Regions from separate parts of the Homo sapiens genome. Here regions 2, 3, 4, 5, 6 and 7 are each linked to region 1. Evidence: promoter capture Hi-C in 16 types of primary human blood cells and fetal thymus (Javierre and others, 2016). All regions are on one chromosome and are shown on one strand. The core of a region is centred on a gene start or on the middle of the fragment in contact, and the rest is flanking DNA. Distances in the headings are between cores, read along the strand shown.

Region 1 (2,949 bases), core at 126-2,625:
CGGTGCCCCAGAGCCAGGAGAGCAAGCCTGGAAGGAGAGCCAGAGGCAGGAGGGGCACAGGCAGCCCAGGGTGTGGGAAGCAGCCAGGAAAGATCTAGAGCTGGGGTGGCAGGGGAGGGGCTGCTGACATCAGGAATGTTGGATGGTGCCTTGGAATCTCCTGGGAGACAGGGATCACAAGACCCTCTGCCACCTTCCAGAGGGCCACGATGAAAACAGCTAAGATTTACTGACAACTGATTATGCAAGAGGCCGTGGGTTAAATGCTTCAGTGATGCATCACCTCATCTAATTTCCTGTACTAATGTAGGACCACCCATTGCTCACCACCACCTGAAGCCCTGTGCTCACCACCACCTGAAACTCTCTCACCTACGTGAGACCTCCTGGAGTAGGAGGGCAAAGGCAGGAGGGAGGGACGACGTGAAGCTGTGCCACCAACAGGGAGAGTGGTCCCATTAGTATGGCAGGGGGTGACACAGCACAGTCCCCTGTGGCTCAAGCCTAGTACCTGTCGCGTACTGGAGGAATGGGGATAAGCGACCCGTACAACCACAGCACCAACCCTAGAGCCACCGGCCCCCAAAAGCGGCCCTGCCGCCCGGGTGCTGGATGTGCCTCCACGCCAGCGCTGACCTCGGCCTAGCACAGGGTCCCTCCAGGCATCTGGGCTCGCGTGCGCATTAGTAAGCCAGCCATTCCTCCCCTAGCAGACTGGGGAGTGGCCAGACCCTACCGAATCCCCCTGTTCCCACCTGAGATGCCAGCCCCCCACACCCCCGCCCTGCCCTGGGCTCTTACCTTCTGCGGCCGTCCCTGGCCGCTTCCCTGGCTTGCCCCCCGCCTGGGCTTTTCGGACCCGCGGGGTGGGCTCGGGAGGCGGCGGGGCCTCCACGTCGTCCTCCCGGGGCTCAGGTTCTAGCTCTGACAGGAAGCCCTCGAGGAACTCCTCGATCTCGTCGTCGGTCAGCACCGTCTGCGGGCGCCCTCCAGGGCACAGGGCCAGCAACGCCAGGAGGCAGCTGAGCAGGGGCGCCCCGCGCACGGCCGCCATGGCCGCGGCACGCGCGGGGGGCTCCGGGGAGGGCGCGGGGGGTCAGGGGCTCTGGGTCTCTGGGAAAGGGCGGAGAGGGGATCGAGACGGGTGAGGGAATCCAGGAAGGGGCGGGAGAGAGGATGGGGTGAGCGAGGGAATCCGGGAAAGGGAGGGAGAGTGGATTAGGGTGGGCGAGGGGACCCGGGAAGGGGTGCTGGGGGGCTCCGAAGCCAGAGGGGCTCAGGGGTGGTCGGGGCGCTCCGAGGTCCTGGCGGCTAATAGGCGCTCCGGCCCCGCGTGGCGCACTCCCGCGCGGATAGCCGTCTCCAAAGCGCTGGCGGGGCCCGGGGCGGGGGCGCCGGGGCTTCCGGAGCCGGCTCCCCACCCCCGGGGAGGAGGAGGAGGAAGAGAAGGAGGAGCCGAGAGTGGACGGAGGGGCTGCGGGGGGGCGGGGGGCGGGGGGCGGGGGGCTAGGGGCGGGGCAGGCGGGCGGGCGCTGGCGGCGAGCGTCCCAAGCCCGGAGACTTGCGCCTAGGACAGAGGGGCAGGGGGCGGGGCGACTGGGAAGACAGAGGGCCTGAGGGAAGGAAAGGTGGTGGGGAGGGCCTGGGGTGCGGGTCTGAGGGGGCCGACATCCCTCCTCCTTCTGCCCTAGGCACCCCCCTTAAGGCGGGACCCCGAGTCCACCGGGGCTCTGAGCCCTCCGCGGGTGACCAGGAACCCTGGACGGAAAGCCGTGGTGTCAGGCCTCTGAGACCTCTCTCAATTCGGAGGGCCACAGAAAGGCCACCCCATCCTTCCCAGGCTCTGGAGCCTCTGCCCATGGGCCCTGCTGCATCCCAGCGTCAATTCATTCAGTCATCCTACCAACCTCTTCAGGTCGGTGTGGGGCCGGGCCCCGTGCTGGGCCCCAGGGAGGGACAGCACAGTGGGAACTCACTTTCCAGCCAGGAGGCAGGTGCAAAACTGCCCTCAGAGTGGCCAGCTGCCCCGCTGGGGGTAGGAGTCCCATGTAAGGGCATGCCATCCCTCCCCTCCGGGTCCCAACGTGGACAAATAGCCATTTATCACCTTCTTCTTACCAGAACTCATTTTTTAAAAAGTGTCTACCATACCTCCAGCTGCCACATGGACCCAGAGGGCCCAGAGGACCCAGAAGGCAGGTGGATTGAGTGTCAACTGATCCCAGGATCCATCAGGGATGTGCACCTTGGTGCCTGGTGTTTGCCATAAGGCTTCTCCAGGGCAAATGTTGGCTGCCCTACAACGGCCATCAACAGGCAGAGTGGTCCCATTAGTATGGCAGGGCGTGACACAGCACAGTCCCCCGTGACTCAAGCCTAGTCCCTGTCTCATACTGGAGGAATGGGGAGCTAAGGACAGAGCTCCGAGGACATTCCCCCTTAAAGGAATGAGGACACAAGAGAAAGCTCACAGGTAGTCCATGGGCCAAGTGCAGAGGCAGACAGCCCTAAGCCACGATTGTCTGCGGGGTTTGGCCCCAGTGAAGTAGTCAGGTAGGGAAGCCTAGGAGCCCCTGGGATGATTGACAGGGCAGAGTTTGGACCTGGGGTCAAAAGGAAAGAGGAAAAGTGGGTCAGGAAGCACCTGGGTCCCCAGAGCAGCCCCGAGTGAGTTGGAGCAGGCAGCAGCCGGGGAGGCCACAGTGGAGGCTGCTGGGCCTGGGATACATGCCACCCCCTGGGAGCAGGACCACAAGGAGGCCTTGCCTCCTCTCACACCTGGTCCTGCCAAGACCCTGCCTTTGCTTTCTCACTGCATCTCCTTGAAAAAGCAGTGGGACTGTGTCAGGTTCTGGCTCTACCTCCCAGGCACCACATCTCGGCAGGTAGCCTCAGTGCCGTCCACCTGTGTCCCTGTTCTCCTTGTCGTTCATACAGGATCATGCATGT
Region 2 (2,949 bases), core at 189-2,688, 510 kb before region 1:
GATTAGCTGAAACAATTTTGAAAAAGAAGTGAGAGAAATCAATCTATCCGATTTTGAGACTTCTTATGAGCTACAATAATAAAAACTCTCGGTATTGGTGATGGGATAGACACAAAGATCAATGGAATGCAACAGAGAATCAGAAACAGAGTCACACAAGTACAGCCAAGTGATTTCTGACGAAAGTGCAAAAGCAATTCAATGGAAGAAAAACAGTCTTCTCAAACAAACGGTGCTGGTTAGATATTCATAAGCAAAAACCCCCCACAAAAACCAAAAAACACTCAAACTTTAAACCACATACAGAAATTAACTCCAAATGGATATACCTAATGTAAATGACGAGTTAATGGGTGCAGCACACCAACATGGCACATGTATACATATGTAACAAACCTGCATGTTGTGCACATGTACCCCAGAACTTAAAGCATAATAATAAAAAAAAACATTAAAACTTTTAGAATATCTATTTGATCTTGAGTCTTTAGGACTCAAAAAAAGCTGGCCACAAGACTAAATTTATATCAATTACATTAAAATTAAAAACTGTTCATCAAAAAGTACCATAAAGTGAAAACATAAAAAAAAAAAGAAAAAAGAAATTAAGTCTAAATGAATCATAGATTTAAATGTAAAATTTAAAAATTTTATAAAAGTGGCCAGGCGCAGTGGCTCACGCCTGTAATCCTGGCACTTCAGGAAGCCAAGGTGGGAGGATTGCTTGACCCCAGGAGTTTGAGACCAGTCTGGGCAACATGGCAAAACCCGTCCCTACAAAAAATACAAAAATTAGGCCAGGCACGGTGGCTCACGCCTGTAATCCCAGCACTTTGGGAGGCCGAGGCGGGGGGGATCACGAGGTCAGGAGATCGAGACCATCCTGGGTAACACAGTGAAACCCCGTCTCTACTAAAAAATACAAAAAAAAAAAATTAGCCGGGCATGGTGGCGGGCACCTGTAGTCCCAGCTACTCAGGAGGCTGAGGTGGGAGAATGGCATGAACCCGGAAGGCGGAGGTTGCAGTGAGCTGAGATCGTGCCACTGCACTCCAGCACTCCAGCCTGGGCGACAGAGCGAGACTCCGTCTCAAAAAACCAAAAAACAAAAAATACAAAAATTAGCCAGGCATGGTGCAGACTCCGGTACTCTTAGCTACTCAGGAGGCTGAGGTGTGAGGATCACCGGATCACCTGAGCCCAGGAGGTTGAGGCTGCGGTGAGCTGTGATCATGCCACTGCACTCCAGCCTGGGGTGACAGAGTAAGACCGTGTCTCCAAAAAAAAAAAAAAAAAAATTTAGAAAAATACATATGATAAAATCTTCAGGAATTTGGGCTAGGCAAAGAGTTCTTCAACTCAACACCAAAAGCAATCTAACAAAAGATAAAATTGGTAAACCAGACCTCATCAAAATTATAAACTTTTGCTTTGCAAAAGACCCCGTTAAGAAGATGAAAAGGGGCTGAGCGCGGTGGCTCACGCCTGTAATCCCAGCACTTTGGGAGGCCAAGGGGGTGTCGATCACGAGGTCAGGAGATCCAGACCATCCTGGCTAACACAGTAAAAGCCCGTCTCTACTAAAAATACAAAAGAATTAGCCGGGCGTGGTGGCACGCGGCTGTAGTCCCAGCTACTTGGGAGGCTGAGAAAGGCTTGAACCGGGGAGGTGGAGGTTGCAGTGAGCCAAGATTGCACCACTGCACTCCAGCCTGGGCAACAGAGCAAGACTCCGTCTCAAACAAACAAACAAACAAAAAGATGAAAAGGGCTAGGAGCAGTGGCTCACGCCTGTAATCCCAGCACTCTGGGAGGCTGAGGTGGACAGATCGCGAGGTCAGGAGTTCGAGACCAGCCTGACCAACACGGTGAAACCCCGTCTCTACTAAAAATACAAAAATTAGCCAGGTGTGGTGGCAAGCGCCTGTAATCCCAGCTACTCAGGAGGCTGAGGCGGAAGAATCGCTTGAACCTGGGAGGCAGAGGTTGTAGAGATTACGCCACTGCACTCCAGCCTGGGGGACAGAACGAGACTCCATCTCAAAAACAAAACAAACAAACAAACAAAAAAAAAACCAAGATGAAAAGACATGCTGCTGACTAGGAGAAAATATCTGCAAACTACATATCCAACAAAGCAGTGGTATCTAGAATACATTAGGAATTCTCAAAGCTCAACAGTTAACAAAAACCGAACAATCTAATTACGAAATGAACAAAAGATATGAACAGACATTTCACCCGAGAGTATACAGGGGCCAGGCATGGTGGCTCATGCCTGAAATCCTAGCCTTTGGGAGGCTAAGACAGGAGGATCACTTGATCCCAGGAGTTCAAGACCAGCCTGGGCAACATAGCAAGATCCCATCTCTTCCAAAAAAAGAGAGAATAGACAGATGGCAAATAAGCACATGAAAAGATGTTCAACATCATTAGCCATCAGAAAAATGCAAATTACAACCACAAAGAGACATTACTACACATTTATTGGAATGGCTATAATAAAAAAAGTAACATCACCAAATGCTGGCAAGTATGTGGAGAAACAAGACCATACAGTGCCGGTGGGAATGTAAAATAGTACAATCACTCTGGAAAACAGTTTGGCTATTTGTTTAATAACTAAGCACGCACTACGACTTAGTGATTGTATTCCTGGGCATTTATCTTGGAGAAATGTCAATTTATGTTCAAATAAAAATCTGTACATGAAGGTTTGTAGCAGCTTTATTTGTAATAGCCAAAGAATGGAAACAGTAAAGATGTCTTTTAATGGATGAATAAACCAAATGTGGTACATCCATAGCCCAATAGCCCGGCTTCAATAAAAAGGAATGAAGTACCTTTTTTTTTTTTTTTTTGAGACAGGGTCTCACTCTGTCACTCATGCTGGAGTGCAGTGGCGCGATCTCGGCTCACCGCAGCCACCACAGCCTAGGCTCAAGCGAT
Region 3 (2,949 bases), core at 257-2,756, 460 kb before region 1:
GGCTTGCTAGGTAAACTCAGGTGCATTCAGAGCCGAAGGTTACATGGGAAGGAATGAGGTTGGTTGCGTGTCCATATGGAACAGTCTGTAAGATGATGCCCAGCAAAAAGGGGTACAGGGTACTGCCATGTGTGTCATGGAGAAGGGAAAATGGAAACATCCACTCCCGGGAGGTTCTGAGAAATGCACAGAAGCAGCTGCCTCATGCCTTTTGAAACACATGAGTGTGTTATCCTTTGAAAAGCTAGGTCTGTGAAGTCACAGAAGAAAGATGCTCACTCTGTGGCTCTCCCTCTTCCCCCGGCAGACATACTTTGAAGACAACCCTAGGGACCTCCAGCTGCTGCGGCATGACCTACCTTTGCACCCCGCAGTGGTGAAGCCCCACCTGGGCCATGTTCCTGACTACCTGGGTGAGTGTGGCCTGACAGGGCAGGAGGCAGCAGGCTGGGGAAGTGGCATTAATTTCTCCACTGCTGGGTCAGCCCCTGTGCTTGGTGCTGGGGATGCTCAGGCAGAATAGAACCTGGAGACCCTGGCAGCACGCGGGCATGTAAACAGGCACACCCCTGTGTTTCTAAACTTGTTTGCTTGGTCCCACGGGTTAGCTGTTGCTGTCTCCATTTTAGAGATGAGGAAATTGAGGTAGTGCAGGGTGGGTGGCAGACCCAGCATTTCAGGCCAGGTCGTCTCCAGAGCTGGGCCAAATGGCCATCCATGGGTCGAAGGGAGTGAACAGGTTTGGGAGAGAGTCACGGGCAGGAGGCAGAGAGAGCCACCTGTGCTGCAAAAGACTCAAGATTAGCAGCTGCTGAAGAGGCATCTGTGGAGTCTCTGGGTAAGAACAGTCAGCAGGGAGACAGACTCTGTAAGGCCTAAACCGACAAGGTAGCAAGAGAAGAGCCAGTGGTGGTGCGAGGGATGCAGGGGTTGGCAGGCATGAGGTCAGGACCCTGGGATTGGTTTCTGTAGTGCAGCCCAGGCTAGAGCTTTATGTGGCCATTAATACTGGGCACCTCTCCTCATCTTTGGCAGGCTCTGGGTAATGACTTCTTTCAGTGTCTCATAGGAGGTGTTTTTGGTAATGAGTATGTGTGACTTTTATGCCTAAAATGGATTGAAGGAGGAGAGTGGTGGAGAGGAGGCTGTGGGCAGCAAGTGCAGGACCCTTCCCAATGCCACAGGGTCTGCTCAGCCTGGACCTGCAGCCACCCAGCGGGTGTGGTGTTGCTGCTATGGAGGTGACAAAGGGTGGAGATGGAATGTTCCAGGGCAGGAAAAGCCTGGGCACTGGGAAAGGAAGGATCCAGAAGAGATGGGAACATGAAAATGCCAGAGAGAGCGGTGGGGGCCGGGTTCCCATGGGACAGTGAGCTGGAGGAGACCCCAGTCCAGGTCCTGGCCTGAGATGTGAGGAGGGGAGTTGGGAGGGTGGGTAGGGAGGGAGAAGGTAAGGCTAGAACTTTGGCCTCAGGAACCCAGTCTGCTCGTATAGCGGAGTCATTTGCCAAGGTGTGGCCAGGAGGTTTAGAAGGGCCAGGAGAAGGTGGAAAGGTGTCAGGATGTGGGATGTTTGACATTTGAAGGGGAGGGCCCAGGTGTGGTTGGCCTGGGGGAGTCCATGGGGTGGGCGAGGTGAAGATAGAGCCAAGATCAGGTGCAGCTGGGATGCGGGGCCCCCTGTATCGGTAGTAATGGGCCACAGGTGAAGAAACTACCTGTTGACTTTTATTTCAGCTGCATTTTCTTTCTTTAAGGATGTCTGTCTTTTTCTTTCTTGTTACATGTTTGTTGTAACAAATCTAAACAATATAGGAGAGTGATTTAAATAGTGGAAGTCTAAGGTGCTCACATTCTCCTGGCCCTGTGCAGATGTGGTAGTGAATAGATGTATGTCATAGGCTGCCAGTTGGGTCAGAATTGGAGAATTTGCTGCAGAATCAGCGGGAGGGCAGGGATGGGAGCAGTAGCGGTGAGCCCACTGCTCAGGCAAGCATCTCTTCCAGTTCCTCCTGCTCTCCGTGGCCTGGTGCGCCCTCACAAGAAGCGGAAGAAGCTGTCTTCCTCTTGTAGGAAGGCCAAGGTACGGCTCCTGGGGACTGCGGACAGCCCCAGGACTCCTCCCAACCTGCTCTTTTGTCATCACCAGAATGTGGAGGCGCCTTGCCCTAGGGAGGGGAAGAGAGGGTGCCCTAGGGAGGGGAAGAGGGGGCACCCTAGAACCGGGCCCCAAAAATCTGGTGTGGGATAGGGGTACTTTTGCAGCCGCCTGCAGGCCCTGCTTTTCTTTCCCCAGCTGCCTTTCCCCATTTCCTTATCTGCAGCACCTTCTGGTCGTGTTGGCCAGTTGCCGGCACGGCTCCCTTTGTGTCTTTCTCAGTTGGGTGGGTGGGTGGGTGGATTGTCTGTCGGCCTGATTCCCCCAACTAACCTGTGACTTTGCCTCCTTAGAGAGCAAAGTCCCAGAACCCACTGCGCAGCTTCAAGCACAAAGGAAAGAAATTCAGACCCACAGCCAAGCCCTCCTGAGGTTGTTGGGCCTCTCTGGAGCTGAGCACATTGTGGAGCACAGGCTTACACCCTTCGTGGACAGGCGAGGCTCTGGTGCTTACTGCACAGCCTGAACAGACAGTTCTGGGGCCGGCAGTGCTGGGCCCTTTAGCTCCTTGGCACTTCCAAGCTGGCATCTTGCCCCTTGACAACAGAATAAAAATTTTAGCTGCCCCAGTTTGTGCCTCCAGCATATGAAAAGGACTATTTGAATCCCCAAAACATCAGGAGTCGGGAAACTTCGGAAGACAGCTGTGCCTGGCTCTGTGGCTGCATGCAGTGCTTCACTTGGCCAGCAGAGGTCAGCTGTGCCGAGCTGCCCCAGCCATGAGAAGAGAAGCCTGCCCTTGCTGGCAGGTGGCTATGGCCGGCCCAGAGCCTTCCTGCCCAGCTCCTGCA
Region 4 (2,949 bases), core at 286-2,785, 440 kb before region 1:
ACTGAAGGTGCCCGCCACGTGCTGGGGCGAAATCTTCCAGGAATGTCCTCTACCAGTGACAGATGAATGTGGTGGAAAGCTGTCTGTGTCCTTATTCCTTGGAGGGGACCTTCTTGGGCACGTCCCCACCAGTTCCCGGAGGTCCCTGGGGGCAGGAGCAAGCTCTTGGATGCATTCTGGTCAGCTTTCTTCCATCCCCTGGCTCATTCCCCATTCACCGACTGCTGTCATCTGGGGTCATCTCCCCAATAAACTCTTTGCACTGGGATCCTTGTTTCAGGATCTGTTTCTGGAGGAACTAGATGACAACACCGGGAACAGAGGACCTAGAGAGGCAGCTTCATGGGTGGTGGGGTGTCCGCCTCTGCCGGCCAGGGACTTGGGAGCAGTGCTGGGAAGGTGCTGGATGGAGCTGTCACTCACAGGGGCAGGTCCTTGGCTGCTGACTGTCTTCCTCTCCACTATGGCTGTCTTGAGAACTTAGGGGTCAGCCTGACCCTGCCTTGGCCCCCTTCCTCTCAGCCTCTGTCTTCTCCTGCATGAGGCTGGGTGGCTCCCCTGTGAATCAGGCAGGGGTCCACAGAACACTAGAGACAGGTCCCTTCCTGCAGCTGTCTCCAGTAGGTGGCCACGCAGGAGATGTTCCCAACAAGCTGCCCTTATCTGCAGCTCAGCTTTGGTAATGGGGGCCCATTACCAAATGGGGGTAAAGGTCATGGCCCATCCTGGTGATAGTGAGAACCCAAGGTAGGCCTTGAAGATTCCTATCAGGAGGGAGCAGAAAGTGTGTACCACACCCCTGGGCCCAGGTGGAGCAGGGCTGCTGCTCAAGGCTCCCAGCCATGCTCTGTCCCTTGCTAGGGGTGACCGGTGGGACAGGCCTGGGCAAGGGACAAGAGGGAGAAGGTCGGGGGGAAGAGGGGATGAAGAGCAAAGTGAGCAAAGGAGAGTCTTCCACTATCTGGGGTCTCTGTCAACTGTCAGGCCCTAGAGTGAGCTGTTCTTTCCCTTTGCTTCCTGGAGGAGGGGACTTTTGTCACTGCGTCACTCCACCCTGCCTGCCCCTCCGTTATCAGGCTGTTAATATTAATTAACAACAGTTGCTAGGGATGACAGTGCAGAGGGTTCCTCTGAGCCCATTGCTGGCCCTGGTCCCAAGAGGGGGTAGGGCAGAGCTGGGGTCTGAGGCTGAGCCAGGGAGGGTGCGGAGGTTCCTCGGCCATGCTGAGCTCCTGAGGCCGGGTCCCAGCCAGTGCCTGGTCCCATCTGTGCCTCCAGGCCCTGGCACCAACTCCAGCAGTGTTAGGGGCTAATAGCGTGGTCTCTCCCCTAGCTGACTCAGCCCTCTGGCTTCGGTCGCTTTGGGAAGTGAGTGGAGACCCTAGCACCTGCGTGATGAGGCTCATCTAAAGCGGGGGCCTGTGGACTGGGGCCAAACAGTGGGAGTGGTGGATCATTAACCAGCAGGGCTCAGCCTCATTGGTCCCTAACCCAGTCAGGCCAGGGTTGTCATCGAAGGGGAGGAGGCTGCCTTAATGTGTGTTCAGCCCTTGGCTGTTCCTGAGGCCTGGCCTGGCTCCCCGCTGACCCCTTCCCAGACCTGGGATGGCGGAGGCCGGCCTGAGGGGCTGGCTGCTGTGGGCCCTGCTCCTGCGCTTGGTGAGTCCCAGGGCTTGGCTCCACCTCCCCTGCGGCCTCCAGTTAGGGACCCTGGGGCCAGCCGTGTACCAGGCGAGCGTTACTGGGTGACAGCAAGGGAGCCTCAGGGCCTGCGGGCTGGGCAAGTCTCTGGACACATGAGGGATGCCAGGCCCCACAGAGGAGGGGTGCAGGTGGAGGGTTTCCAGGTTACAGGCTTGAATGCACACAGGGGTGAAAGAGGCTGCTGGACTGGGGTGCTCCAAGTCCCTCCTGTCACTGGCCCTACTGTGGGGTCCAGGCCTGCAGTTGAGGGAGGTCTGAGGCAAGGAGGTGCTGGGATGGGGTTACCTGGTGAGCATCACCTAGGGAGGACTGAGCACTCTGGAGGCTGGGAGAAGATCCAGCGCTGGCACCTCTTAAGTTCCTCGCTTACTTTGTGTCTGGGAGGTGGGTGACAGCTTTTGGCCTCAAGCAGGTGGTGGTAGTGGTGGTGGGAGTCGGGGGGCCTCCTGAACAGACTCTCCATGAGAGACCCTGGCCTCTGGATGTGGTGTACAGTGTGGGGACTCAGGCTGACTTTGACGTGGGCAGAGCCCGGGACCTTGGAGTCAGCTTTGCCTCCTTACCCATCTCTGGCCTCTCCAGCATGACTTTCCTAAGCTGCAGGTCTATCAGGCCACCCCCAGGAAGAAAGGCCAGTGTTGTCACTCCAACACTGGCTGGCTGGCACATGCCTCCAGGAGGCTTCCTACTCCCCACACTCCCCGCTTCCCTGCCCCTGCTCCATGTCCTTCTTACCCTCACACCCTCCCTGGCTGCCTGCTGCCTGGATGGCACCCAGCTGTGTCAGGGCCCACGCGTGATGTTGCTGTGCTCTGCAGGCCCAGAGTGAGCCTTACACAACCATCCACCAGCCTGGCTACTGCGCCTTCTATGACGAATGTGGGAAGAACCCAGAGCTGTCTGGAAGCCTCATGACACTCTCCAACGTGTCCTGCCTGTCCAACACGCCGGCCCGCAAGATCACAGGTGATCACCTGATCCTATTACAGAAGATCTGCCCCCGCCTCTACACCGGCCCCAACACCCAAGCCTGCTGCTCCGCCAAGCAGCTGGTATCACTGGAAGCGAGTCTGTCGATCACCAAGGCCCTCCTCACCCGCTGCCCAGCCTGCTCTGACAATTTTGTGAACCTGCACTGCCACAACACGTGCAGCCCCAATCAGAGCCTCTTCATCAATGTGACCCGCGTGGCCCAGCTAGGGGCTGGACAACTCCCAGCTGTGGTGGCCTATGAGGCCTTCTACC
Region 5 (2,949 bases), core at 151-2,650, 410 kb before region 1:
TCTTTTTCAGATACACATGCTCACTGTACACAATAAAGAAATAACTTTTTTTTTTTTTTTGAGACACAGTTGCCATTCTGTCACCCAGGCTGGAGTACAGTGGCACAATCTCGGCTCACTGCAACCTCTACCTCCTGGATTCAAGTAATTCTCCTGCCTCAGCCTCCCTAGTAGCTGGGATTACAGGCACATGCCACTATGCTCAGCTAATTTTTGTATTATTAATAGAGGCAGAGTGTCGCCAAGAAACAACCTTTTTGGGCCAGGTGCGGTGGCTCACACCTGTAATCCCAGCAGTTTGGGAGACCGAGGCCGGCGAATCACTTGAGGTCAGGAGTTTGAGACCAGCCTGGCCAACATGGTGAAACCCTGTCTCTACTAAAAATACAAAAATTAGCCAGGCATGGTGGCATGCACCTGTAATCCCAGCTACTTGGGAGGCTGAGGCAGGACAATCACTTGAACCCGGGAAGCAGAAGTTGCAGTGAGCCAAGATCGCACCACTGCACTCCAGCTGCGGTGACAGTGAGACTCTGTCTCGAAAACAAAAACAAGAACAAAAAACCCTTTATTGTATAAAGGTCTTAATAACCTTAATTTCTTCTTTTTTTTTTTTGAGATGGGATCTTGCTCTGTTGCCCAGCTGGAGTGCAGTAGCATGATCTCAGCTCACTGCAGCCTCTGCCTCCTGAGTTCAAGAATTCTCCTGCCTCAGCCCCCCAAGTAGCTGGGATTACAGGGGTGTGCCACCACGCCTGGCTAATTTTTGCATTTTTAGTAGAGACAGGGTTTCACCATGTTGGGCAGGCTGGTCTTGAACTCCTGACCTCAGGTGATCGACCTGCCTTAGCCTTCCAAAGTGCTGGGATTACAGGCATGAGCCACCACACCCGGCCAATAACCTTAATTTCTTAAAAGTCATTAAGAAATAACCTTTATCTGGCAGGAGCCCTAAGCCACAGCTCTAATAATCCAACCGTTCTCATTTTTCTGTCTTCCTTTCTAGTCCTTTCCTATAGGAATATGCAAATTAAAAACCAATTAAGTTAATTTTAAAAATCCAATGCATATCTTGAAACCATACAGAGAAGAATCTCGGTTCACTAGGGAGATCTCTGTAGGCTTCACTCATCAAAGGTCAGGCCTGGGTCTCCCACAGCAGTGGGGCCAGCTATGGAGTTTGCAGGGCTGGTGCAAAACAAAAATATGGGCCTCTTGCACAAAATTTACTAAGAATTTCAAATGGTGGTGGCAGAGCCCTGAACCCCGCTTGATCACATGCCTGTGCCACTGCGTCTGCGGTGTTCTGAAGTTGTCCTGGAAAGGGCTCTGACCTTTGCCCTTCCATCTTCTGTGTGCCATGGCTGTCCAGCCTCCAGGTTCATGGCCTATCACAAGCCCCTGAAAAACTCACAGGATTACACAGAAGCTCTGCGGGCAGCTCGAGAGCTGGCAGCCAACATCACTGCTGACCTGCGGAAAGTGCCTGGAACAGACCCGGCTTTTGAGGTCTTCCCCTACACGTGAGGACCTGAGTGGCTGGGCTGGAGGGAGGTGGGGTATGGTTGCTGGAGACTGGAGGTTAGGGTGGAGGGCTTGCAAGGAGTTGCATGAGATGAGGACCAGTTTTAGGTCAGGAGGCTCTGGCTGCAGCCTTGGGCCTATTTCTTAGGCTGGTTTGTACCCCAATATAAGCCTGCCTGACCCTCAGCATTCTCCTTCTGAAGTGGGGTGTCCCACCCACCATGAGGGCCCCAGAGGCCTGAGCCTGTGACCATGCTCTGTGCTCTGGCAGGATCACCAATGTGTTTTATGAGCAGTACCTGACCATCCTCCCTGAGGGGCTCTTCATGCTCAGCCTCTGCCTTGTGCCCACCTTCGCTGTCTCCTGCCTCCTGCTGGGCCTGGACCTGCGCTCCGGCCTCCTCAACCTGCTCTCCATTGTCATGATCCTCGTGGACACTGTCGGCTTCATGGCCCTGTGGGGCATCAGTTACAATGCTGTGTCCCTCATCAACCTGGTCTCGGTAACCCAGCAGACACAGGCACCAGGGGGCCTCTGGAGGGGTGGTTGGGGATCCAGCCTCATAGAATACTCCTAGTTCTTTTTTGTTTCTTTTTTTAGAGGCAGGGTCTTGCTCTGTTGCTCAGGCTTGAGGGCAGTGACATGATCACAGCTCACTGTAGCCTCGAACCCTTGGGCTCAAGCGATCCTCCTACCTCAGCCTCCAAAGTAGCCAGGACTACAGGCACGTGCCACTGCGTCCAGCTAATATTTTAATTTTTGTTGTAGAGACAGGGTCTCACTTTGTTGCCCAGGCTGGTCTCAAACTCCTGGGCTCAAGTGATCCTCTCACCTCGGCCTCCCAAAGTGTTGGGATTATAGGCATGAGCCACTGCACCCGGCCAAATACTCCCAGTTCTGTCTAGAATCTAGATGCCTGCCCCACGCTGGTCCTGGTGGAGGCCTCATCTCCCTAGTTCCTTCCCCACCTCTGCCTTTCTTGGCTTATGCCCCCTCTCTGCCCATAGGCGGTGGGCATGTCTGTGGAGTTTGTGTCCCACATTACCCGCTCCTTTGCCATCAGCACCAAGCCCACCTGGCTGGAGAGGGCCAAAGAGGCCACCATCTCTATGGGAAGTGCGGTGAGTGGAGAGGAGTGGGCCACCCTGTGCCCCACTCGACACCCTGTGCCCTGCCTGATGCCCTGTGCCCTGCCTGATGCCCTGTGCCCTGCCTGACACCTGGCTCTGAACCCCCCAGGTGTTTGCAGGTGTGGCCATGACCAACCTGCCTGGCATCCTTGTCCTGGGCCTCGCCAAGGCCCAGCTCATTCAGATCTTCTTCTTCCGCCTCAACCTCCTGATCACTCTGCTGGGCCTGCTGCATGGCTTGGTCTTCCTGCCCGTCATCCTCAGCTACGTGGGTGAGTGCCCAGGCCTGTTCCT
Region 6 (2,949 bases), core at 304-2,803, 370 kb before region 1:
CACCTTGCCCAGCTGATTTTTGTATTTTTTGTAGAGATAGGGTCTTACCATGTTGCCCAGGCTGGTGTCGAACTGGTGAGCTCAAGTGATCCACTCGCCTCAGCCTCGTAAAGTGCTGGGATTATAGGTGTGAGGCACCATGCCTGGCCATTTTTTGGGAATATTTTTGATCCTCAGCAAATATTTTGGTAAATATTTTTTGGGAATATTTTGATTTGGGCTATGGAACCCATGGATAGCGAGGGCTGACTATATCTGCTGCTTCTGTTTCTTTGGTGGAACCTTGACTTATACAGATATTTTCATGATATAATGTTAAGTGAGAAGGGGAGAATTCAAACTATATAGTCTAATATCAAATTTGAAAACTTTAAAAATTATGTATGTAGAAAAAAAGCTGGAAGAAAATAGTAGTAGTAATCACAGAGTGGTGGAATTGTGAGTGTTCTTCATTTTTATCTTTGTCCCTTACTATATTTTCTAATTTTTCTGTAATGACCATTTATTTTGTTTTATTAATTTTTTTGTATTCCTTTTATGATCTCTAAAAAATGAAAGGAGGGTATTGGTTTTGATTTCTGAGTAATAGACTAGAATAGCTACTTTGTTGTTTTGTAGAGACCCTATTTTAAAATTCTTGAACCAGTGAATTTTGTTCTGGGTTAGAATTAGAGTTAGTTTTGTGAGTTCTACCTTAAAAATAAGTATAGAGTGAAGACTTGGATATGTTTCAGGAAAGCTAACCTTTCTACTTGGTAGCTCTTTGTTCAGAATAGACTGGTACCGCAAGAATCCTAATCAAACCTTTCCAAGGACTGGAACATTCTCAGCTTCAGTTACTTGTTTTCCTTGAACAAAACAGGAAGTTGTGGCACCGATCTCTAGTTATACCTGAAATGTAGTGTTTTAGCAGATTTGAAAATAGAATGTGAAAGACCATCCTTTTCCTTGTTCTACCTTTAGCTGCACCCCAAGTCCTCCCACCAGTGTTCAGGATGGTTTATCCTATAAATTATAGATCTGCAGTTCTTTTAATTGAGTAATTTAAGGTAGTTATTCTGTAGAAGACCACACAGAAGCACCATCTTTTGTGAGCACTCTGTCTAAAATCTGAGAATCTAAGTCTTAGATTGCTGATATCTGATGACTCTTACTTGACATGTTTTTCGGTTCTAACCAGTATTAGGCAAAAACTCCCTTTTTGTATACTACAGTAAAGTCACATCACATGCTTATTTAATTTAAATAAATTCAGTGTAAGTGCTGGGAAAGAAAGAAACAAGATTAAAAATAATGTATTTATATTTTGTATATATGTATTTTGAATTTTATTTTTTTAGAGACAGGATCTTGCTGTGTTTTTCAGGCTGAACTCGAACTTCTGGGCTCAAGTACTCCTCCTGCCTCTATATATGCATTTTTGTTGTAAGGTGTTCATTACTGTATACAGACAATTGTTTTGTGTTTTAGTAAAGTATAATTTATGTAACAATACAATTCATTCCTTTTAGAATACAGTTTATGACTTTGGACAAATGTAGTCTTGTAACCACCACAGTCAAGATAGATGACCAGTATGGTTTGGCTGTGTCCCCACCCAAATCTCATCTTGAATTGCAGTTCCCATAATCCTCACATGTCATGGGAGGGACCCGGTGGGAGGCAGTGAATCATGGGGGCAGTTATATCCATGTGGTTCTCGTGATAGTGAGTTCTCATAGACGGTTTTATAAGGGACTTTTCCCGCTTTGCTTGGCACGTCTTCCTGCTGGTATGTGAAGAAGGATGTGTTTACTTCCCCTTCTGTCATGATTGTAAGTTTTCTGAGGCCTCCCCAGCCATGCTGAACTGCGAGTCAATTAAACCTCTTTTCTTTATAAATTACCCCATCTTGGGTATGTCCTTATAGCAGCATGAGAATGGACTAATACAATGACATTTCCATTGGTGCCAGACTCCCAGATCCTGGCAACCTTGTGCCTGTGTTCTGCCCTAAAGCTGTTGCAGCATACATTGTTATTTATACATAATAATGTACAGGTTTCATTTATAGTATTTTTGGGGTGATTTGGGGGAAATTTTATTTTGACCTAATTTTACCATCACTCTGATTTTAGCATCTCCCTGACTAATAACCTACAATTGGTCTGAATTTCATTCTTGTTTCTGCCCTACTGTTGCTGCCAGGGCATGTCAAATGAAGATCAGAAATGCCCCCACCCCAGGGCTTAAAGGAACCTATCTTTTTCTTTTTTTAGACGGAGTTTTGCTCTTGTTGCCCAGGCTGGAGTGCAATGGCATGATCTCGGCTTACTGCAACTTCCACCTCCCAGGTTCAAGCGATTCTCCTGCCTTAGCCTTGCAAGTAGCTGGGAGTGCAGGTGCCTGCCACCATGCCTGGCTAATTTTTGTATTTTTTTAGTAGAGACAGGGTTTCACCATGTTGGCCATACTGGTCTGAAACTCCTGACCTTGGGTGATCCACCCATCTCGGTCTCCCAAAGTGCTGGAATTACAGGCGTGAGCCACCGCGCCCGGCCCAAAGTAAATAACCCATCTTATTCCTCAGAGAAGAGAGAGAATTTGCACACAGATATTTCCCTATTTGCACAAGATAGCATCAGAGAATGTGCTTATATTCTGTAAGGATGCTTTACAATTTTAATAGTTGTTCAGGCTGGGTGTGGTGGCTCATGCCTGTAATCTCAGCACTGTTAGAGGCCGAGGCCGGCTGATCATTTGAAGTCAGGAGTTTGAGACAAGCCTCACCAACATGGTGAAACTCTGTCTCTATAAAAATACAAAAAATTAACCAGGTGTGGTGGTGCGTGCCTGTAATCTCAGCTACACAGGAGGCTGAGGCAGCAGAATTGCATGAACCCGGGAGGTGGAGGTTGCAGTGAGTTGAGATTGTGCCACTGCACTCCAGCCTGGGCGACAGAGCAGAGC
Region 7 (2,949 bases), core at 220-2,719, 360 kb before region 1:
TTTTAGTAAAGGCCAGAATCAGACATGTTGTATTCCTGGAAAATTCATGATATAATAAAAGCATGCAAAAAATTATTTGGGTTTTTATCTAAAATTGAGTTAGGTTACAGGCTCAGAAGAATGTTAAACAGCTTCTGTCTACCTGCATGTCTAATGGGATGTGTGAAGGTAATGCAGGGCAGGGGACAGTGCCCATTGACTGCCCCAAGGACACCTAACGCTGCCCACACACTCCCAAACTCCCAGGAGGCAGGGCCTACCCTCCCTTTGAGAGCTGCTGATCAAGTAGGAGTTTTCTGTTTTCATTCATATTTGAAAAGTTGGAATAATCTGCTTTATGATGTCTTTATTCCCTGAAAAGTTAAGCTAATAATATTGGTCAGTGTTTTCCTATTTAGGAACATTTTCTGAACATGTGGTCATTAGGGGATTTTAGAGTATAAGTTATGTATCTGTTAATTTTTTCTGGGTAATTATGTGGTTGAGATGCTAGTGGCACACATTATGGTTACATTTGTTCAGTAACTGTAACTCGAGCCCTGGAAATTAGGCTTCTATAAAATTTCATAGCAATTCATGAAATGTTGTTTGTAAGCAAAATGTACCCAGCTCCTTGACTAAAGTTACCTTAAATATTCTTAAAGATAGAGAGGTAATACGCATTTCTTTTTCTCTTTCTGTATGTGTGTATATATGAGAGAGAGAGAGAGAGTGTGTGTGTACATGTCCCTGATAATTCCTATCTCAGAGCAGTGGAAGTCCTCTGAGTTTGATAATATGCTTTGCATGTGCTATATTTGTGGACTGCCTCAGAACATCTCTTGGGGAGACTACCTGGGTTCAGGGACCACCTGCCTATGCACCTGAATCATGTGAGCCCTGATTTTATTTACCACGGAGCCAGGCACTTGAACACTGTCCCATCCCAACTGTGTCCATCCCAACTGTGGACAGCTTTTACACGGTCCACCTCCTTGCCTTCCAGGACCCCTTCCTCCCTTCTCCTTGGCTTCTGTGGCCCTGCACCCATGAAGGCCAGCACAGGCACCACCTTCTCTAGGAAGCATTTCTGGCATTTGAGAAAATGAGCTTTCACACAGTCTGGGTTAGGGCCCGGATCCCAAACTTTCTGTTTCTTTGTTTCCTCCCCCTTTCAACCATTATGGCTGAGGTGTGGCCATTCTGCATGTCACATGGCTGGTGAAAGACTCCTTTCTCTCTCTCTTTGGTGCTTCTTCAAAGGCTCCTTCACTTTCAATGGTATAGGTCAGATTGTACCATGTGTCTGCGGCTGACTCAATCATGGTAGCTTTTCTGTCCTTCCCATAGCATCCCTAACAGGCAGGAAATGATTTAGTCTTTATGAGTGTGCCTCCCCCCACAGGGAGACAGCCTTTTCCTGTTGCAGATCACACTGATTTTAAGAGAAGACTTCTCTTCATATGCAGCTTGCCCTTCTATCCTCCCATCCCATGTATATGTGGCATACCTTCTATGATGTTTCAGGCTCTGTTCTAGCAGTCAGACATATAGAGTGGGAGATGCTCAAGGGGCTCACAGTTTAGGGGGAGCTTGGACAAACTGTTGCAATCCCATGTGATGAATGCAGAGGAAGGGTCCAGACCCATTTTCTGGAATGTCAGAAATACTTCCTGGAGAAGGTGATGCCTGTGCTGGCCTTCATGGGTGCAGGGCCGAAGAAGCCAGGAGAAGGGAGGAAGGGATTCCTGGAAGGCAAGGAGATAGAAGAAAGCATTTGAGTTGTGTCCAGAGAATCCCCTTGGGAGGGGTATAGTCTTGAAGGAGCGTTTTGAGATAAGCAGAGTTGAACCCGTCGGGTTTTTAGGCCTGTTGTCTAGGACTACCTAGGATATGTGGTAGGAGAAAAGAATTATCACACCGTTCAAATACATTTTTAAAAATAATGAAAGATTTTCCAATGGAGGAAAACTAAAATCCTTTAATGCAGATTTTGCAAAAAAGCGTTTTTGCCAAGTGTTGACTAGTGTAGAGTTAATTCATTTGGAGTAATGTTTTATAGTATTTGTGAAATTTAGTATAGGTTAGAGTTAGTACTGGATCCAGGGTTTAAACTTTTGTTTTCTCTTTCTTTCCCCCCAAATTAAAGCATCCTATCCTTTTCATCTTAATTTCATTCATATCTTCATATTACGTTTTTGAGATAGCTGTTTATTTTTTTGAGGGGGAAATAGTGACATAAATAGGTTTAGAACCTCAGGTGGCTTAAAACCCCAGATGTAGTCAGTGGTAAATTTTTTTTTTCTTGGTTAGTCTAGTTTTGGTGTTGGTAAGTATTATATATGCTGGTGGGTTTTTAAAAAGGGCACGTGGTAGAGTCTGGCATACTATTTGGAGTCTTGTGGTAGCTGCCCACTTCCTGCTAATGCAGTAGAGCATGTTCATAATGGCCTTATATGCTTTCCTTCCTAGGGCAGGCCGTACTTAGTCATACCAGGTAAGAAATATGTTTTAAAATTTTAGTTAAACAGTTATGATGATAGCTTATAGTTTACTTTGCATTTCTTTATTTATAGAAAGATTACATTTTCTACACAGTGATTTACTGTTGTTATTTCCTACTTTGTTAACTCATTAACTCCACTTACTCATTGATGGGAGTCTGGATATTATCCTTCTGTAGTTTTACAAATCCTCACATTTTCTTATTCACTGCTTTTCTTCTATCAGTTGATTCACTGAATTTAGTGTGGGGATTTTACCACATCGATACTGCCTTCAGTGATTTTCTTTATGTTAGATTTTAGAAATTTCTCTCTGCTTTAATGTTGTAGGCTAAATATACCATTCCATTGTCTACTAAAGGGCTCAAGACTGTTCTTTAATATTGTTTGATTTCTTTAAAATGAATTCCACTGTGACTTGATCAAGTTTTGTATTATACCACTTGGGGACTTTAATTGATATTAT

What was found. Contacts are between HindIII fragments. The CHiCAGO score rates a contact against its expected background, and 5 or more counts as called.
Region 2: a fragment that was not itself captured here is called in contact with the fragment with the promoter of AEBP1 in region 1 in 1 of 17 cell types (fetal thymus); the score reaches 6.4 in fetal thymus.
Region 3: a fragment that was not itself captured here is called in contact with the fragment with the promoter of AEBP1 in region 1 in 11 of 17 cell types (M1 macrophages, M0 macrophages, fetal thymus and 8 more); the score reaches 12.0 in M1 macrophages.
Region 4: a contact is called between the fragment with the promoter of NPC1L1 here and the fragment with the promoter of AEBP1 in region 1, in 8 of 17 cell types (M1 macrophages, M2 macrophages, M0 macrophages and 5 more). The highest score is 18.5, in M1 macrophages.
Region 5: a fragment that was not itself captured here is called in contact with the fragment with the promoter of AEBP1 in region 1 in 2 of 17 cell types (M2 macrophages and M1 macrophages); the score reaches 10.1 in M2 macrophages.
Region 6: a fragment that was not itself captured here is called in contact with the fragment with the promoter of AEBP1 in region 1 in 9 of 17 cell types (M1 macrophages, fetal thymus, M2 macrophages and 6 more); the score reaches 8.4 in M1 macrophages.
Region 7: a fragment that was not itself captured here is called in contact with the fragment with the promoter of AEBP1 in region 1 in 1 of 17 cell types (M1 macrophages); the score reaches 5.1 in M1 macrophages.

The regions. Positions count from the first base shown.
Region 1 is chr7:44,102,771-44,105,719 of GRCh38, reverse strand. AEBP1 (AE binding protein 1) reads right to left here and starts at 1,375. Exons shown (of 21, transcript NM_001129.5): 1 at 802-1,375. The coding sequence starts at 1,054. The HindIII fragment of the contact is 6,426 bases long and covers 1-2,949 here.
Region 2 is chr7:44,609,422-44,612,370 of GRCh38, reverse strand. The region is part of intron 1 of OGDH (oxoglutarate dehydrogenase); the gene reads right to left. Among named protein-coding and RNA genes, the nearest start is that of OGDH, 4.3 kb to the right of the region's middle. The HindIII fragment of the contact is 7,319 bases long and covers 1-2,949 here.
Region 3 is chr7:44,565,582-44,568,530 of GRCh38, reverse strand. DDX56 (DEAD-box helicase 56) reads left to right here. Exons shown (of 14, transcript NM_019082.4): 12 at 308-413; 13 at 2,007-2,083; 14 at 2,452-2,727. The coding sequence ends at 2,529. Among named protein-coding and RNA genes, the nearest start is that of DDX56, 6.9 kb to the left of the region's middle. RefSeq lists an enhancer at 2,368-2,867 and a silencer at 2,721-2,932. The HindIII fragment of the contact is 3,764 bases long and covers 1-2,949 here.
Region 4 is chr7:44,539,916-44,542,864 of GRCh38, reverse strand. It overlaps NPC1L1 (NPC1 like intracellular cholesterol transporter 1), which reads left to right and starts at 1,535. Exons shown (of 19, transcript NM_001101648.2): 1 at 1,535-1,659; 2 at 2,523-2,949. The coding sequence starts at 1,606. RefSeq lists an enhancer at 2,242-2,863. The HindIII fragment of the contact is 6,836 bases long and covers 1-2,949 here.
Region 5 is chr7:44,515,781-44,518,729 of GRCh38, reverse strand. NPC1L1 (NPC1 like intracellular cholesterol transporter 1) reads left to right here. Exons shown (of 19, transcript NM_001101648.2): 15 at 1,373-1,523; 16 at 1,796-2,027; 17 at 2,533-2,646; 18 at 2,765-2,927. Among named protein-coding and RNA genes, the nearest start is that of NPC1L1, 24 kb to the left of the region's middle. The HindIII fragment of the contact is 7,058 bases long and covers 1-2,949 here.
Region 6 is chr7:44,477,860-44,480,808 of GRCh38, reverse strand. The region is part of intron 2 of NUDCD3 (NudC domain containing 3); the gene reads left to right. Among named protein-coding and RNA genes, the nearest start is that of NUDCD3, 11 kb to the left of the region's middle. The HindIII fragment of the contact is 6,664 bases long and covers 1-2,949 here.
Region 7 is chr7:44,459,915-44,462,863 of GRCh38, reverse strand. The region is part of intron 2 of NUDCD3 (NudC domain containing 3); the gene reads left to right. Among named protein-coding and RNA genes, the nearest start is that of NUDCD3, 29 kb to the left of the region's middle. The HindIII fragment of the contact is 6,752 bases long and covers 1-2,949 here.